Regions from separate parts of the Homo sapiens genome. Here all the other regions are linked to region 1. The links are contacts of gene promoters, found by promoter capture Hi-C in blood cells and fetal thymus (Javierre and others, 2016). All regions are on one chromosome and are shown on one strand. The core of a region is centred on a gene start or on the middle of the fragment in contact, and the rest is flanking DNA. Distances in the headings are between cores, read along the strand shown.

What was found. The method cuts DNA at HindIII sites, captures the fragments that hold promoters and counts their contacts. A CHiCAGO score of 5 or more calls a contact.
Region 2: a contact is called between a fragment that was not itself captured here and the fragment with the promoter of ATP1B3 in region 1, in 1 of 17 cell types (naive CD4 T cells). The highest score is 5.5, in naive CD4 T cells.
Region 3: a fragment that was not itself captured here is called in contact with the fragment with the promoter of ATP1B3 in region 1 in 1 of 17 cell types (fetal thymus); the score reaches 5.0 in fetal thymus.
Region 4: a contact is called between a fragment that was not itself captured here and the fragment with the promoter of ATP1B3 in region 1, in 1 of 17 cell types (fetal thymus). The highest score is 5.8, in fetal thymus.
Region 5: a contact is called between a fragment that was not itself captured here and the fragment with the promoter of ATP1B3 in region 1, in 15 of 17 cell types (M0 macrophages, endothelial precursors, M2 macrophages and 12 more). The highest score is 12.1, in M0 macrophages.
Region 6: the fragment with the promoter of TFDP2 here is called in contact with the fragment with the promoter of ATP1B3 in region 1 in 1 of 17 cell types (fetal thymus); the score reaches 5.4 in fetal thymus.

Annotation. Positions count from the first base shown.
Region 1 is chr3:141,875,307-141,877,924 of GRCh38, forward strand. It overlaps ATP1B3 (ATPase Na+/K+ transporting subunit beta 3), which reads left to right and starts at 1,337. Exons shown (of 7, transcript NM_001679.4): 1 at 1,337-1,604. The coding sequence starts at 1,496. RefSeq lists silencers at 232-291, 1,162-1,291, 1,562-2,131. The HindIII fragment of the contact is 6,749 bases long and covers 1-2,618 here.
Region 2 is chr3:141,410,927-141,413,544 of GRCh38, forward strand. All of the region lies in intron 5 of ZBTB38 (zinc finger and BTB domain containing 38), which reads left to right. Among named protein-coding and RNA genes, the nearest start is that of ZBTB38, 44 kb to the left of the region's middle. The HindIII fragment of the contact is 3,130 bases long and covers 1-2,618 here.
Region 3 is chr3:142,279,787-142,282,404 of GRCh38, forward strand. No RefSeq gene overlaps it. Among named protein-coding and RNA genes, the nearest start is that of GK5, 56 kb to the left of the region's middle. The HindIII fragment of the contact is 1,595 bases long and covers 505-2,099 here.
Region 4 is chr3:142,226,143-142,228,760 of GRCh38, forward strand. No RefSeq gene overlaps it. Among named protein-coding and RNA genes, the nearest start is that of GK5, 1.9 kb to the left of the region's middle. The HindIII fragment of the contact is 1,467 bases long and covers 559-2,025 here.
Region 5 is chr3:141,590,157-141,592,774 of GRCh38, forward strand. All of the region lies in intron 19 of RASA2 (RAS p21 protein activator 2), which reads left to right. Among named protein-coding and RNA genes, the nearest start is that of RASA2-IT1, 66 kb to the left of the region's middle. The HindIII fragment of the contact is 2,889 bases long and covers 1-2,618 here.
Region 6 is chr3:142,148,244-142,150,861 of GRCh38, forward strand. It overlaps TFDP2 (transcription factor Dp-2), which reads right to left and starts at 1,301. Exons shown (of 13, transcript NM_001178139.2): 1 at 940-1,301. RefSeq lists silencers at 797-846, 1,077-1,146, 1,207-1,416, 1,527-1,576 and an enhancer at 946-1,446. The HindIII fragment of the contact is 3,426 bases long and covers 530-2,618 here.

The sequences.
Region 1 (2,618 bases), core at 87-2,586:
AAAAAGCACTTTATAGGAATATATTTTACCACTTTTCCATTTGTGGGAGGTATAATTCATTATTTCTTGCTTTGGTAAGAAAAGTGAGGAAAAAGGAAAATTCATCCATTTGCAGGCTGTTTAAACTTCCAGACAGATTATAATTCATCACTCCAAACAATAAGATGGCTATTACATTTCTCCATAATTTTTATTTGCTAATAAAACGGAGGCAGAGCTTTTTTCTAAAAATAAATAAATAAACAACAACAACAACAACCTCCCCCACCCCGCACCTTCTGTGCAAATTCCTATAAAGTCTTTTATCCTGTCGCTGAGTCTGAGGGCACCCCCCCTCCCGTACTCGTCAGCTCCATCTCGCGGAGGAAAACGCTACCGGCACCCTCAGCTCCGCCCAAGGGCCGCGATCTCTACAGGGGAGATGAAAAGCCGGCGACACTACACAGGCGTGGACCCTCCAACGAGTGTTCCTTTCCTGTGGGTTAAGAGTAGGAGCGTCTGGGCAAAAGCTGGGAGCTTTCAGTTGCCAGGACCCTTGGGAAAGCACGTATTTAGATTTCATTGATAAATTCAACTGAATCCCGAGAAAAATTATACTCCATTCACTGGCATATTTAGAACGGAATTCCCATTGACCCGAGGCTCCCGGTTGAACCCTTCAAGGGAGCCAAGCGAGGACGTTCTCAGAACAGCAGTGCACCGTGTACATTGTGGGAGCCCCGCGCGATCCCCCGCAGAGCGTCCTGTAGGAACGTCACAGAGCCCAGAGAGCGTCCTGTAGGAACGTCACAGAGCCCAGAGAGCGTCCTGTAGGAACGTCACAGAGCCCAGAGAGCGTCCTGTAGGAACGTCACAGAGCCCAGAGAACGCCTGGGGACGGTCGGGGAGGCAGTTCGGGGAGGGGACGATTAAGTTCCCTCAGAGAGGAAGCCGCGGGCCGACTGGAGTCGTTTTCGTGCTCTCCGCACCCGCCCGCCGCGGGTAGCATCTTCTCAGCGCCCCGGCGCCCAGGAACGCCCAGGAAACCCAGTCCTCCTCCTAAGCAACCTGCGGCGCGGGGACGCCCGCCTTTTGCTATTATTATAAACGTGCGTGCGACTAAACCTTCGGATTTTTAGACTTTCTTCTCGCTTCCTCTGACCCAGGCTGAGGGAGCCCCCGAGGCTACTGCGGGGCGGGGCCGGGGCGGGGTGGGGCGCCCTCGCCGCCTCAGGCAGCGCCCCGGCCGCTGGCGGGAGGCGGCAGCGGCGCGGGCCGAGCGGCGCGGGGATTGGCTGCGGCGGGCGGAGACGTCAGGCTCCCGCGGCCCAAGCGGCCGCCCGGCGCGGCGCGGCGCAGTCGGCTCGAGTACTCCCCGTAACGAGGAGGTGTTCTCGGCCGTCCCACCCTTCACTGCCGTCTCCGGGCTGCGCCGCCGGAGCCGGGACGCGCCTCCGCAGCCCTCGCCGCCTCCATCCCCGCGGCCGCAGCTCCTCTCGCCGTCCGCGCGCACACCATGACGAAGAACGAGAAGAAGTCCCTCAACCAGAGCCTGGCCGAGTGGAAGCTCTTCATCTACAACCCGACCACCGGAGAATTCCTGGGGCGCACCGCCAAGAGCTGGGGTGAGCGGGCAGCAGCTGGGCGTCCGGGGCCGGCCTCGGTCCCGGGGGCGCCGGGCGCGGTCTGGTGGGAACGGAAAGGCGGGAGGCGGCTCCCAGCGCCGGGGCTCCCGACCGCCCGACCCTAACCCGGGCGGCGGCGGCGCAGTGCGGCCCCATTCATTGCTCCCCGGGCCGGCCGGACTGGCCGCAGCTCGCTCCCGAAGCAGCGGGGCCCGCGGGCAGCCCGGCCGGGCCGCGCTGGTTCCTCCCTCCCTGCTGGGAGCGGGGCGCACGTGCTGCCCGGGCCTCCCGCCCGGCGCGGCGCCGGAAGCCGGGGACCCCTGCCCGAAGCCGGGCCCCGAGAGTGCAGGAGCCGAGCCCCCGGGCCTCCTTTGTACGGAGCGCTCCGGCCCGAGAGGCCCTGGCGGAGGCGCCCGGCCCGCTGAGCGGTTCGGAGAAGCCAGACCCTGCCCCACTCCAGGGGAGAGGAAATTTCCACTCCCGCCGCTATCTTGTGACTCGTCCACGCTGCCACCCCGACCGGTCGGAAGAGTGCGACTGAGTGTTAAGTGTGGGTGTGGGTTGCTTAAACGTGTAGCGGTGAGTTAATCACAGAAGTACATTGTACAAGAAAATGCACTTGAATTTGGACAGTGAAAAGGCCCTTAAAAAGGTTGGTTCCTCCCGGATTCCTTTTTAATTACAGAGGTTTTCTTCCTTACAAATTTGCTTCTTTGGGGAAAGTAAATCCTGTCTGAACAACACAGGTTTTTTTTTTTTTTCCCGTGTCTTCAAAACAGGAGAGTGATGGTTGTATGTTAGCAGATTTTTTCTATGCGTGAGCTCTTTGTTTTAATATATTTAAACCATCTACCGTGTAGAGTAGCTTTAGGATGCCTTTTTTTCCTAAAATTGTATCAATCTCTGAATGCAGGCTAGAGCTTTTTTTTTTTTTTGCCTTTATACTTAAGTAAACTAATTTTACCTTTTTAAATCCTTTTGAAACATTTTGTTAGTGGGTCTTGAAAGACCATT
Region 2 (2,618 bases), core at 37-2,536, 460 kb before region 1:
GCTGTTTAAGTCCTGGAAGGGTATCTTGGGATTATTTCAGCAACCCGTGAAGGCAGGCTTTGTGCAAGGTGAGACAGATATGAGCTGTCACTTCCTGCTTTGTGAGTTGGATATTGTTTCTAGGCCCTGTTTTATTTATGTTATTTTTCCTGTTCATGTGTTAGAACAACTGACTGTTTGTAGAGTTGATGACAATTAGATAATAAGACCACCAATTCAGTCCAAACAAAGATGAATTCATTATCTTGCCAGGCAAGGGAGACCCACATATTCAGATCAGTCTCCCCATACTTTTGTGCGTTTTCATGTAAGCATGGAGATTTCCGATTAGTTTTAATAGCACAGTGATTGGCTCCTAGACACCTAAATGAGGATTTCCTTTTTGAAAAACCTACTCAGCATTCTGATCTGTCCCTGCTTAAACCTATTTAGTCTGGTCTTATAGTCCCTGACTTGAGCCCAAAGAGCAAGGTTTCTCAAGGTCTCTGTGCAGGTCTTTGATGCTCTTTCGTGGAAGAGATTTACAGTGGTTACAGCCATAACCGGTGCCTGTGGCTGAACCATGCCTTCTGTAGTGTGTTCAGCCCTTCCCTTGAATTAATGCAAGTTCCACCTTTGCTTTAATGGGAGGGGACAGAAGGACCACTTTGAGGAAGCGGAGGCAAGAAGATAGTCTGCAAAAGCCATGACGTGGCACTGAAATGAAGCCCTGTGTAGGGTTTTACTCAGACGTTAGAGAACTGGCTGCCCCTGAGTGCTGTGCTAACTAGGGAAAGAAAAAAAACCCTGACCTTTAAAATTTTTCCTGTGAAGGTCTAGCAATTCTGGAGTGTCTTCAGCGACTACACAGTGTAAAGCAACTTTTTGCACAGAAGCACCATAAATTACCTAAATGGAAATTTGCTTCTAAGTGAAGTTCTTACCCTGTCTGTTGGATATTTAGTATTGTCAATATTTGTTTTTGTTTTTGACATTTTCAGGAAACCAAGAGCTTTTTGTCACATTTGAAGAATCTCTTTTAAGAGTTTCTTTTCTATTTATAATGCGTTTCTGATAAGAAGATTTGCACCTTTCTCTATTTTAGAAAATACTTTTTGAGGTCTTTTGTTTTTCCTTTTATGAAGTTTAAATAGTTGTCTTAACCTCCAATCCTAGCAACTCCCTTACATTAAAAATGACCTATATTTTTTTTCTCCCATGAGGTTCCTTTGCTCAGAGAGAATAAGAAAAGTTCTGGTAATTAGTCACTGTGGTATTCTGTAAACAAATACTTTGGAAGCTATGATTTATGTTACTGGTCGGGAAGAAAAAAAAATGGTTTTGTGTATCTCTAGACGATTACCCTTGTGAAAGGCAAGTGCCTCGTATTCCCAAAAGGTCTCTTGGGTGCCCTGTTTGTTGTGTTAAGGTCTCTCAAAGCCGGTGGCCATTTTCTGCGAGCTGAATCCCTGTGTGAAACTCCTCCCACTGTGAGGTCTACGAGCATTTGTTTTCTAAAATGAAAGCACAGGCAGAAACTCAAGCTATTCTACAGAACAGTCTGTTCTTTTGATTTTTTTTTTTTTAGATCAGTATATTTAAAGCATAATTTTTCTAAACAACATATTGCGAGTGTTTACCTGCAGTGGTTTGGAGTTTGTTTGGGGAGTTTTAATTATTTTTTAATGTAGACAACTTATTTACCAACATCATTGCTCCTTCTGCTCAGATAATTCTACCCTAAACCAGGTGAATAGGGGAACTATGTAGGCACCTGACTACTGCCAGAAACTTTCCTTCTGTTTCTATTACCTTTCTTTTGGGGTGAAATTGGCAACAGCTCACTGGAACTTAGCTCCCTTAATATTCTTTCTCCCTCCCACAATTTTTTCCACTCGGTTTTTTTTTTTTATCTGAACCATTGTTCATCCATTTGAAACACTGGCCAGAGTTTTTGTCGCTTTTCCATAGTAGGAAAGCCTTTGTGCCTCTCTTTGTACCTCAGACCTACTGGTGGGCTTGCCGGACAGCTCTGCCAAGCGCCTGCGTCTCCTGAGCCTATGAAGAGGCGACTTTCACAATCCTGTGCTGCCTTCGAGCTCTGTGCTGCCAGGCCTGGCCTCCCTCCAGAGGTCGTAGTGTTGCCAGCAGTGGCTTCAAACTGGAAACATGGGAGGAGGAATTGTGGGAAATGGGGAAGAAGAAAATGTTTGTGCAGGGAAAGTGTGTACGTGGACTTAAATAAATATCTGAGGGCCCAGGCCCATACAGATGATCTCTGTACGCTGGTATTTTGCGCCTGGAGCCAGGTGTCTGTTGACAGTGGGGAGGAGGTGGGGAAGACCCAGCCGGCCGAGAGCCTCAGCCACCTTCCTGCAGGAGGTCCTCACACCCCAGACGGTCAGAATGCTCCCCAGACTGAGGAATCAGCTGCACATCCCCCTGATGTCTCTAAAGCTGAAATCTGCTTCCTGGGTTTAGCCACCATTTTCATTGAGCAGTTCTGAGGATTCCTTGTGGGTACTTGTGATCTTGGTGGAGATGCTTCATGGTGTTGACCCTATTGTTTTGAATACCTGACAGCTGGATGGTCCAGGCCCTATTTCTATGATCTGTTTTTTGGAACTGTTGTATTTGTG
Region 3 (2,618 bases), core at 52-2,551, 400 kb after region 1:
TTCTGGCCAGGGCACACCCTGGTGTTATCCAGAGGCTTCTGGGTTGAACCCAGCCTTTGGCCACCCATCTGAGTGCTGGCAAAAAGGATCTCTAGCTATCCTGTTACAAAATTTTCCTCCTCTTCTATCCATGGTCACCATGTCTCCTATTTTCTCTGCATGCAATGTGCAGGAATTTTTATAGTTCAGGGAAGTAATCCTGTTAGGAAAGATCAGGAAATGCTGTAGTAACTGGAATATAGCTCAGGGGAATGCCATTGTGATTTCCTAGGAACAGAAAGTCTTCTCCCACAGTGAGCATTTCACCCTCTGCCCTTGATCTGGAAAGCACATGGCATCTCCAGGTCACTCTCTGCCCTTGAGCTGGAGAGCACGTGGCATTTTAAGGTCAATATCGCCACCTAGTGAACTAAAAATCATCTCCATGAGGCGTTGTCGGTCCTTTGACATAACACTGTACCTTCCCACTTCTTCTCCCATTTTGCACCTCTCTACTAGAGACCAAGCTTTATGCTGCTTCTGTGGATGGGAAAACTCTGCATTCAACAATTAGGAGCAAAATGTCCTCCAGAACCAAATTTTAGTTCCAATACTGTCCCATCAGCAGGAAAATCACTATTAGGTCCCTATGTTCCTTTAAGTCACCTATTTATGTCTCCAGTTAAAGCAATACTTATTAAGGGGATTTTAAGTCCAGAAGTTAATGAGAACCATTCTCTAGGGGGAAATGCTTCAGCATGGGCCATAATAGCAAAATATGGAGTTCAATCTAATACCCTCCAAAGGCAACGACCTTTTTTTTTTTTTTTTTGAGATGGAGTTTTTGCTCTTTCACTCAGGATGGAGTGAAGTGGTCCAATCTTGGCTCACTGCAACCTCTGCGCCCTGGGTTCAAGTGATTCTCCCCCCTCAACCTCCTGAGTAGCTGGAATTATAGGTGCCTGCCACCAAGACAGGTTAATTTTTTTTTTTTTTTTTGAGATGGAGTCTTGCTCTGTCGCCCAGGCTGGAGTGGAGTGGTGTGATCTCGGCTCACTGCAAGCTCCACCTCCCAGGTTCACACCATTCTCCTGCATCAGCCTCCCAAGTAGCTGGGATTACAGGCGCCCACCACCACGCCCGGCTAATTTTTTTTTTTTTTTTAGTAGAGATGGAGTTTCACTGTGTTAGCCAGGATGGTCTCGATCTCCTGACCTCGTGATCCGCCCACCTCGGCCTCCCAGAGTTCTGGGATTACAGGCGTGAGCCACCATAACCGGCCTAAGACTGGCTAATTTTTGTATTTTTAGTAGAGATGGGGTTTTGCCATGTTGGCCAGGTTGGTCTCGAACCAACCTGGGTGACTTCAGGTGACCCACATGACTCAGCCTCCCAAAGTGCTAGGATTACAGGCATGAGCCACTGTGCCCAGCTCCAAAGGCAACTATTACGTAGTCCTTCCCAATATCCATTTTTCAGGGAGGCACACAGATCACACAAGTCTAGGAAGTCAAAGGGAAATCACAGGCAGAGGACTAGAGTCACATGGGTAAGCGTGACTAATCTCAATTGCTTAGTTCCTCTGGTTCCATGGCTGGGGGGCGGTCACACTTACAACCATGGGTGGCGTGTTCAACAAGGTGCCAGGACCTAGGAACCAAGGAGGGAAAACAGCAGAGAGGACGCCCCCATTGTCTTTTCCTCCACACTTGGTCACACCAAAAGGAAGGAGACAAAAGGGATGCCTTTTTCTTGCTTCTCTTTCTAAATGGGTAACAAACCATCTTCAGCTTGCACCCCTCTGGGGTGCATCCTGAAGCACAGGGACTCCTTTAACCCTGAGACTTTGAAGGAAAAGTGGCTCACTTTCTTTTACACAAGGGCATGGCCTTCTTACTAGACCTTTGCAAGCATTGCACAATCAACCCAGCTCTTGTAGTAGTCATATCAGACAGGCCTATAGAGAATGATTCCCCAAAATTGGAGAAGCAACTTCTGGGGGAACCATCTGAGGATCCCCCTAACTTGGGGCCCCCTAAAGTTCCCTTATCATTACAGGACCTTAGGTAAATAAAGGGAGACTTAGGCCGATTTTCTGACAACTCTGATAGTTATATAGAAGCTTTCCAAAATTTAACTCAGGTGTTTAACCTCTCATAAAGTGATATTATGCTGCTCCTAAACCAAACCCTAACCGTAGCTGAAAAACAGGCAGCTCTGCAGGCAGCAGAGCATTTCAGAGATGAGCAATATGTTTCCTACAGCAGGCCAAAAGGGAAAGGAGAAAATAGAGAATGTGAAGAAATAGGGGAAACACCATTCCCAATAGGAAGAGAGGCAGCACCTCTTGACAATCCTAATTGGAACTCCCAGACTTTTCTGTGGTAATTTTCCTTCTTTCGTTGTTTAAAATGGCTTCTATCTCTTCTTTTATAATGTTCTTCCAACCTGGGAAGAGCTAATTTCCTCAAACCTTAAAATGCTTGGCTTAGAGTTGAGCTAGGGGTAAAGGAACCCAGAAGCCTGACATGCTGAAAAAAGGGTAAAAGTTATGTGTGTGTTTTGTTTGTTTTGTTTTGTTTTTTACCAGTTGAGCTTTTGGCTTCTCTTTCCCTGAGTAAACTGGTAAAAGGGGAAAT
Region 4 (2,618 bases), core at 42-2,541, 350 kb after region 1:
CTCTGTTAAAGAAAAATAGCTACCCCATATGCTAATCGTAAGGAGAGAAGTATAGGCTAGTTTATATAAAAATCTCAAAAAGTTTGGAGGTGCCATAAGGCACATTTATTCATTTCTCAACTATGATTATGACTTGAGGGTTGGAGAAATTTTTATCTGAGTAACTTTGGCAGACTAACCTGTGTCTGCGTTCGTGCAGAATTTTTCAAGCTTAAAACATTTGTAGAGGTCACTACCATATATAGTTTCCATTTTTTTGCTAACATTTTGGGTGCGACTTTATTTCAGTATTATTAAATGCACAGCCATTGAATATGCTAGAGTTAAATGAAATAAAGTGCTGTTTTTCAAAAATGAAATAAAACAAGTGACATAAAAAATTCAAAATTTGGCCAAAAGTATTAATATTTATTAACAAACTGAGAGCTCCCCACGACTTCTCTTCCCAGAAAACCTGGTAAAGTTTGCACACAATACAAAGCGGTAAATATTTGCCAAATGAAATACAACGCAAGGAAGAAGACTTTTCTCAGCCCTCTAGTGGGAAAGAAAGGAGAAAGCTTAAGGTGGCTGCTTTGACCATCACACTCCACTCCAGCGGTTGCTTTTTTTTGGAATCTGAAAGCCTCACAGAGACCCTTTACCTTTTGTTGCTGCCCAAGGGGATGGGCTCATCCAGACACTTGGCCAAAAGGAACAAGGTGTCCTGTGGAAATTTCGAGATTCTTGCGGCTTAGGTTCCTGGGCCTGGAGCTTTCCCGGGGAGGGTCCTGATCTGCAAGTAGTGGGGAGGTGGTTCCACCTGCGCCACCCACCTCTCCACTGCCACCAGCAATCTGTGAAGCCGGGGCCTGAAAATATTCCTTATCTTCTTTTTGTAAAATTAGCAAACATATGAATATATGTTTTGTGTGAAAACGTTTAACAGTGCCAACTGGTATGTCAATTAAAAGGTAAAAGATAATCATTTTGGCTGGGCGCGGGGGCTCACGACTGTAATCCCAGCACTTTCGGAGGCCGAGGCGGGCGGATCACTTGAGGTCAGGAGTTTGAGAGCAGCCTGGGCAACATGGTGAAACCCCGTCTCTACAAAAATACAAAACTTAGCCGGGCGTGGTAGCGGGCTCCTGCAATCCCAGCTACGGGGGAGGCTGAGGCAGGAGAATTACTTGAAGCCGGGAGGCGGAGGTTGCAGTGAGCCGAGATCATGCCACTGCACTCCAGCCTGGGCGACAGAGCAAGACTCTGCCTCAAAATACATACATACATACATACATACATACATACATACATACATACATACTTACATACATACATACATACATACTCATTTTGAATCAAAACTTTTTTTAGACAGGGTCTTGCTCTGTCGCCCAGGCTGGAGTGCTGTGGTGCCATCTCAGCTCACTGCAGCCTCGACCTCCCGGGCTCAGGCGATCCAACTGCCTTAGCCTCCCATGTAGCTGGGACTACAACCACCACGCCCGCCTAATTTTTGCATTTTTTTGTAGAGACTCTGTTTCGCCATATTGGCCAGGCTGGTCTTGAGCTCCTGGCCTCAAGTGATCCTCCCACCTTTGTCTCCCAAAGTGCTGGGATTATGGGTGTGAGCCATTGTGCCCAGCCAAATCATTCTTTTTTTTTTTTTTTCTTTTTTGAGACGGAGTTTTGCCCTTGTTTGCCCAGGCTGGAGTGCAGTGCTGCGATCTCGGCTCACTGCAACCTCCGCCTCCCGGATTCAAGCGATTCTCCTGCCTCAGTCTCCCAAGTTGCTGGGACTACAGGCCCTCTCCACCATGCCCAGCTAATTTTTGTATTTTTAGTAGAGACGGGGTTTCACCATGTTAGCCAGGATGGTCTGGATCTCCTGACCTCGTGATCCGCCCGCCACGGCCTCCCAAAGTGCTGGGATTACAAGCGTGAGCCACTGCACAGGGCCAAGTCATTCTTTTGACCAAATTGTCGTGTTAATCAACTTGCTTTCAGACAATTTGACAAAATTGGCTCTTTGGCCATACAACGTGAAGCTTGGAACATACACCTGGAAGAGTATGTTTTTTTTCTTTGTACCCTGTTCAACAGTACTGATTTGTTCCAAGTGGCCTCAAGGACTGACTGCCTTCACCAGTGCTGGCCATTTTGGTCGTGTGTGTGTGTGAATTATTGTAATTCGAAATAAATGACTAATGGGTCCAGTACTTGTCAGGGTTCTACAGAGAAATAGAAACAATAGGATAGAGAGAAAGAGAAAGAGAGGTTTATTATTTTCAGGAATTGCTTCATGTGATTGTGAGGGCTGGCAAGTCCTGGATATTTGTGGGGCAGGCTAGCAGGCTGGAAACTCAAGAAGAGTTTCCATGTTGCAGTTTTGAGGAGACTTCCTTCTTTGGGAAACCTGTCTTTGTTCTTAAAGCTTAAAACCAATTGTATGAGACTCACCCAGGTTATGAAGGGTGATCTGCTTTACTCAAAGTCTACTAATTTAAATGTTAATTATTTCTAAGAAATACCTTCACAACAACACCTAGACTGGTGTTTGACCGAACAGCTGGGCATACAGTGTGTCTAACTAGCCTAGCCAAGTTCACACATAATAGTAACCATATCAGTTCCCCATT
Region 5 (2,618 bases), core at 89-2,588, 290 kb before region 1:
CTAGATGACTTGGGGCTACCATTGATAATATTAATTGTTATATGGATTCTGATTTAGTGATATTTTCAGGGCTGCTTAAAGGTGTGTGCAACTGTTTACTCCAGCTAAATGCATTTACTCCGCAGCTAAATGCCTTGGACTGCTGTGCTTTTTGTGTTCCTATGTTCGCTTTATACAGTTTTTCTGTATCCTTTGTGGTAAGGCTGTGGCCTTAAATTTCTTGTGATGTCTGTGAACCATAATATAACACCTTATTCCCATCCCATCACCCACCTCTATTTTTTACAGTAGTGTCCTATAAGTGAGGATGCAAGTGCTATGTTTGTTTAAATTATGCCTAAGATTAAAAGGCTTTGAATGAAAACGTCAGGACTTTCTCCTGTAAATAAAATACCTGGGCTTTGCATTCTCTGTTTGGTTGTTGAGCAAATGTTTTGCTTACTTCCAATTTCCCTGCTGTTTTCTAGGTAGCCAAGACTTGCTAGTTAATTAGTCTTTTGCTACACTTACTATGTGACTTTGGTGTCTGAAAGAATACCTCCCAAATTTCCTGTAACATAGACCTAAATCATTGAGTCTTTCACTCTCTCTTCCTAATATACAGTAGTATTGTGAATCAAGTATTTCTGTCACTTAGTGTCAAATAATATGCATAGTCTTTTCCCAATTTACTGGAAAATGAATTAGTAGAATTTTCTCTGTATTAAGGATTTTTCTTCAATAAGTTTTTAAATTTTTGAGGCCCCTTTAGGCAAGTGCTAACAGGCAATAGTAAGCAACTAATCAGTAGAGTTAAATTAACATGTAGCAAATGAATATTATCAGACACTCAGCCATCAGTCATGATTACCTTGAGAGATTTTTATGGCCCTGTGTACTTACAATTATGATTTTATATTGCTATACTATAATTTAGTCATCTTCTACAAGTAAAAGTTCTCTTAGTTATATGCGGAGATCAAACTAGTTATTGATGTTCTAGCCTCTTTATGTCTCATTCAGCCTCATCTTTTGCAGTATCCATATGTAGTTTCACCAGACTACTTTTTGCAGTGCCTTCTTTACATCTTTTGCATGCTTTTACATTCATGCTTTTGCATATGTACATAAAAATATCTACCTAAAAATTCCTTTATTTTCTCCTTTACCTGTGTAATCTGTTGTCCTTTAAGTCTTAGATCAAGTGTCAGCTCTTTATGGAAGCCATTGTAAGCCTCATATGGCTACCTCAGTGTAGCCATTCCCTTACTGTGTATCTTCAGCTACGTGGCATTACTGTGTGGTCATTACTTTTGTCCATCTCTTCCCCTAGTCTTTAAGATCCTCAGTGGTAAGGACCATATTATTACTAGTGGCATAAAGGCATATAGTAAGTATTCTTCAAAGAACACCATGTCTTCCATATATGCTGTCATCTGAATTACGTTACGAACTACTTGTCTTTCTAAAATTTCTGCCAGGCATACTAATTCATCTTTGAAATTCTGTTCTGTAGAATTTAATTAGATATTGTCTACTTTGGGGAGACCTGTTATACACATATACATACACACAACTTTCATGTGACATTAAATGCCCTAGCTTATATAGCCAGCCCTACCCTAGCTCATATAGCCAGTGGACATTGTAAAAGAAATGTCCATGATATTTTAAACATAAATGTTCAATACACTGAAGTTGACACGGTTTTCACCTACCTGTATTTTCACATACAGGGCTCTGCAGCTTTTTTTTTTTCTGATAGCTAAAGAACAAAATACATCATTGATTCAATCATGCATTTATTCAACAGGTATTTTATTGAGTGCCTACTATGTACCAGACACTGTTCTAGGCTCTGGAGAGAAAAATAGTAAACAAAACATACCAAATCCCTGTCCTTATAGATCTTTACTAAGACAATAAACAGTAAAAAAAAGAAAATTATATTTATGTTGGATTATAATAAATCAGATGAACAAAAAAGAAGCAGGGACAAGGTACAGAAAATGATGGGTTCAGTGAGGTGAGTTAAAATATTAAAAGGTCTAACCAGGGAAGGCTTCACTGAGAAAGTGACATTTGAGCAAAGACCTAAATCTAAAGATGGTCGGGGAGTGAACCATGTGGATATTTGGGATAAAAGTGTCACAGAAATAGCTAACAGCACCCAGAACAAATGCCTTGAAATAGAAGCATGCCTGGAGTGTTAAAGAGATAAGAGAAAGCTCTTGTGGCTGGAAAATTGAAGAAGAGGGTAAGTCATAGGAACTAAGATCAAAAAGATCATAGAAGTGCTAGATTTTATAGGACCTTGTGGGCTTTTACTTTGAGTAAAATGGAAAGACATTGGAGAGGTTTAAGCAGAAGAATAACATTGTTTAACTTATGTCTTAATAGGGTAACTTATGTCTGTGGAGTGTTACATGGAGAATGAATGAAGGGCACAAGGAGAGCAGTTAAGAGACTACTAAAATATTCTAGAGGAGAAAAGAGAATGGCTTGGATCTGTTGGTAGCAGTAGAAATGATAAAAATGGATCACATTCTGAATCTATTTGAAAAATAGTACCCAGAGGAGTTAGATACTGGGAGTGAGAGAAAAAGGCAAGTTAAGGATAATTCCAAGGATTTGGGCAT
Region 6 (2,618 bases), core at 51-2,550, 270 kb after region 1:
GGGAGTCTGTGCCCTCTGAGATGGAATGAGGAAAAGATAAAAGTATTCATGGGCTCAAAGGCAGCTTCAGCAGTGAATATGGAAAAGGAATGAGCCCGTTCACTGTCTCAACACTAAAAGGGAAATAATATAGGGTCTTTTTCTAAACCAGCATCCATGGCAGTCAATAATAAAAGTGCCTAACTAATGCAAGGCATTTAATACGTGGAGGATTTTCTTACGATTGCATTCCATACATTAGTCCATTCACTCCCCGAAACACACCGAATAGGTGGATGCATCTAATTTACAGATGAAGAAACCGAGATCACACAATGGGAGATAGCACAGGCTGGTAAGAGAGACTGGGGCGCTCATCCACTTCGTTGTACTGTCTCTCAGCGAGATCCTAGGAAAACCCTTACACTTCTTTGTGAAGACAGACCTTGGCTTTCCAGATTTTCTCAAAGGAGTCTGGGCCCAAAAAGCGATCCTCTACTTCAGAGAAAAGTTCCTTTATGGGGCATATGAGGTTCTTCCAAGCACACAAAGCTTAGAAACTCTTTAAAAACAAACAAAACACCTGGTGGACACAGAGGCCTGTGAGTCATGAAAGGAGAAGGGAAAAATCGGAAAACCAGATTTAGAAGCCATCCTTCTTTGAAGAGAACGAGAAAGTAGAAAGCAGCCCTTCCCCTCTTCCACGAGGCGTGACTCAGGGACGTTACCTCCCCCGATTTGCTCTATGCACTAAGAGGGTGACCCTCCTCTGCTTTCGACTCTGGCCCAGACACTCACGGGTTACCCGGCCAGGCCTGGAGAACCCAGGTCTAAACAGATGGGACTCGTGGGGGAACAAGGGGGCCCCTGTGCGCAGGGAGGGAAACCTACCCAGGAACGCGCCCGGCCGGGTCCAAAGGCCCTCCGCGCGCGGGCCCGCGCCCTCGCCCCAGACCTTACCGCCTTCGGCTGCAGAAGAACTGGCGGCCAAGCGAGGCTGTCGGGCCGAGCCAGGAGCGCGTCTTCGGGCGCCGCCGCTTCTGTGGCGCCCGCGCTTAGGCGGCGGCCGGGTCCCGGTGGACTCACACCCGGGGAGACGCGGCCTGCCCGGTCAAGGCCCAGGAGTTTGAGGCCCCAGAACGCCAACCGTGCGCGCGCCCTCGAGCCTGCCCAAAGATGAAGGGTCAGGGCGCGCCCCGCGGGCCGGGCAGCTGCGGCAGCGCCGCAGCCGAGATCGCTACCGATTTCGTCCGCCCTCTCCCTGCCCAGCTACAGCCCCGCTTCCCCCGCGCGAGCTTTGGCGGCGGAGCAGCACAGTGCGCGCCGATTGGCCCTCAGAATGTGCGACGCCTGGCGCCGCTCCCCACGGATTGGCCGGGCCGGCAGTGCGTGCACGGAGTAAACAAACCCCGCCCCCAGGCTTCCCTTTGAGAGTAGGGGGCCAACAGATGGAGGGGCGGGACTCGTGCACTCAGCCACCGCCCCTTGGTTCCCCCTGTGGCCTCCCTGGGAGCCCTCCGCAGGACCCGACCACCCCGCTTCCCCGCCGCCTCCAGGGACAGCTGCGGGCCTGAGGCCTAGAATTTTAGACACACTTCCTTCATCACTCCTATCTCATCCCCCCTACTCCCACCCTGCGACTTGGGTGGGAATCTCTTTTCCAACTGACCCCGAAGCCAGAAAACCCCAGCTCTCTTGGAAGGAGGGGGACTGGGGCAGTTCCATTCGGTCCCCAGGCCTTTGCGGGGTCGCCCTGGGGGAGCATCAATAAGGGACAGGGGGGCGAGTGATCGTGATTGAGGCTATGCGTGGGGCCAACTGTGGGACACCTTGAAATTATTCAGACAATGAGTTAGAGACCACTGGGAATGTGGAGGTTCTTCAATATCAAGGCAAGTTAATACCCAAACCAGGACAGGTCATTCTGTCCCGCGGAAACTGCACACACCCCAAATACCCGTACACTTGGTTCCATATGAAAAGATTTTGTTCATTCGTTCGTGCCGAAGTTAAAAACCCCGTGTGAACAGCGCATTAAAACGATTAGATCTTTCTCATTTTACTCCAGTCAAATCTTATAGATCTTCTATATGCCACTTTGTTTGTTTTTGAGACGGGGTCTTGCTCTCACCGAGGCTGGAGTGCGGTGGCAGGATCACGGCTCATTGGAGCCCTGACTTCCCAGTCTCAGGTGATCCTACCACCACAGCCTCCCGAGTAGCTGGGACTACAGGCCCGCGCCACCACACCCGGCTGTTTCGCCATGTTTCCCAGGCTGGTTTGGAACTCCTGGACTCAAGAGATCCTCCCGCCTGGGCCTCCCAAAGTGGTGGGATTACAGGCGTGAGCCACCACGCCCGGCCCCAAACACTATTCTTGATATGGGGAGACATCAGTGGACAAAATAGAGACAAAAACTCCTGCCTTCATGGAGCTTACATTCTAGCAGGATGGGAAAGATAATATGCAAAAGAATACGTAAAACAAAAACTATATTACATGCTGGTATGTGTGCTATGGGAAAAAAATATAAGCAGAGGTGTTGGAGGAATGGCTTCAGTCCTAAATAGAGTGATCTGGGAAGGTAGCACGGAGAAGGTGGTATTTAAGCAAATGCCTAAAGGAGATGAGATAGGTAA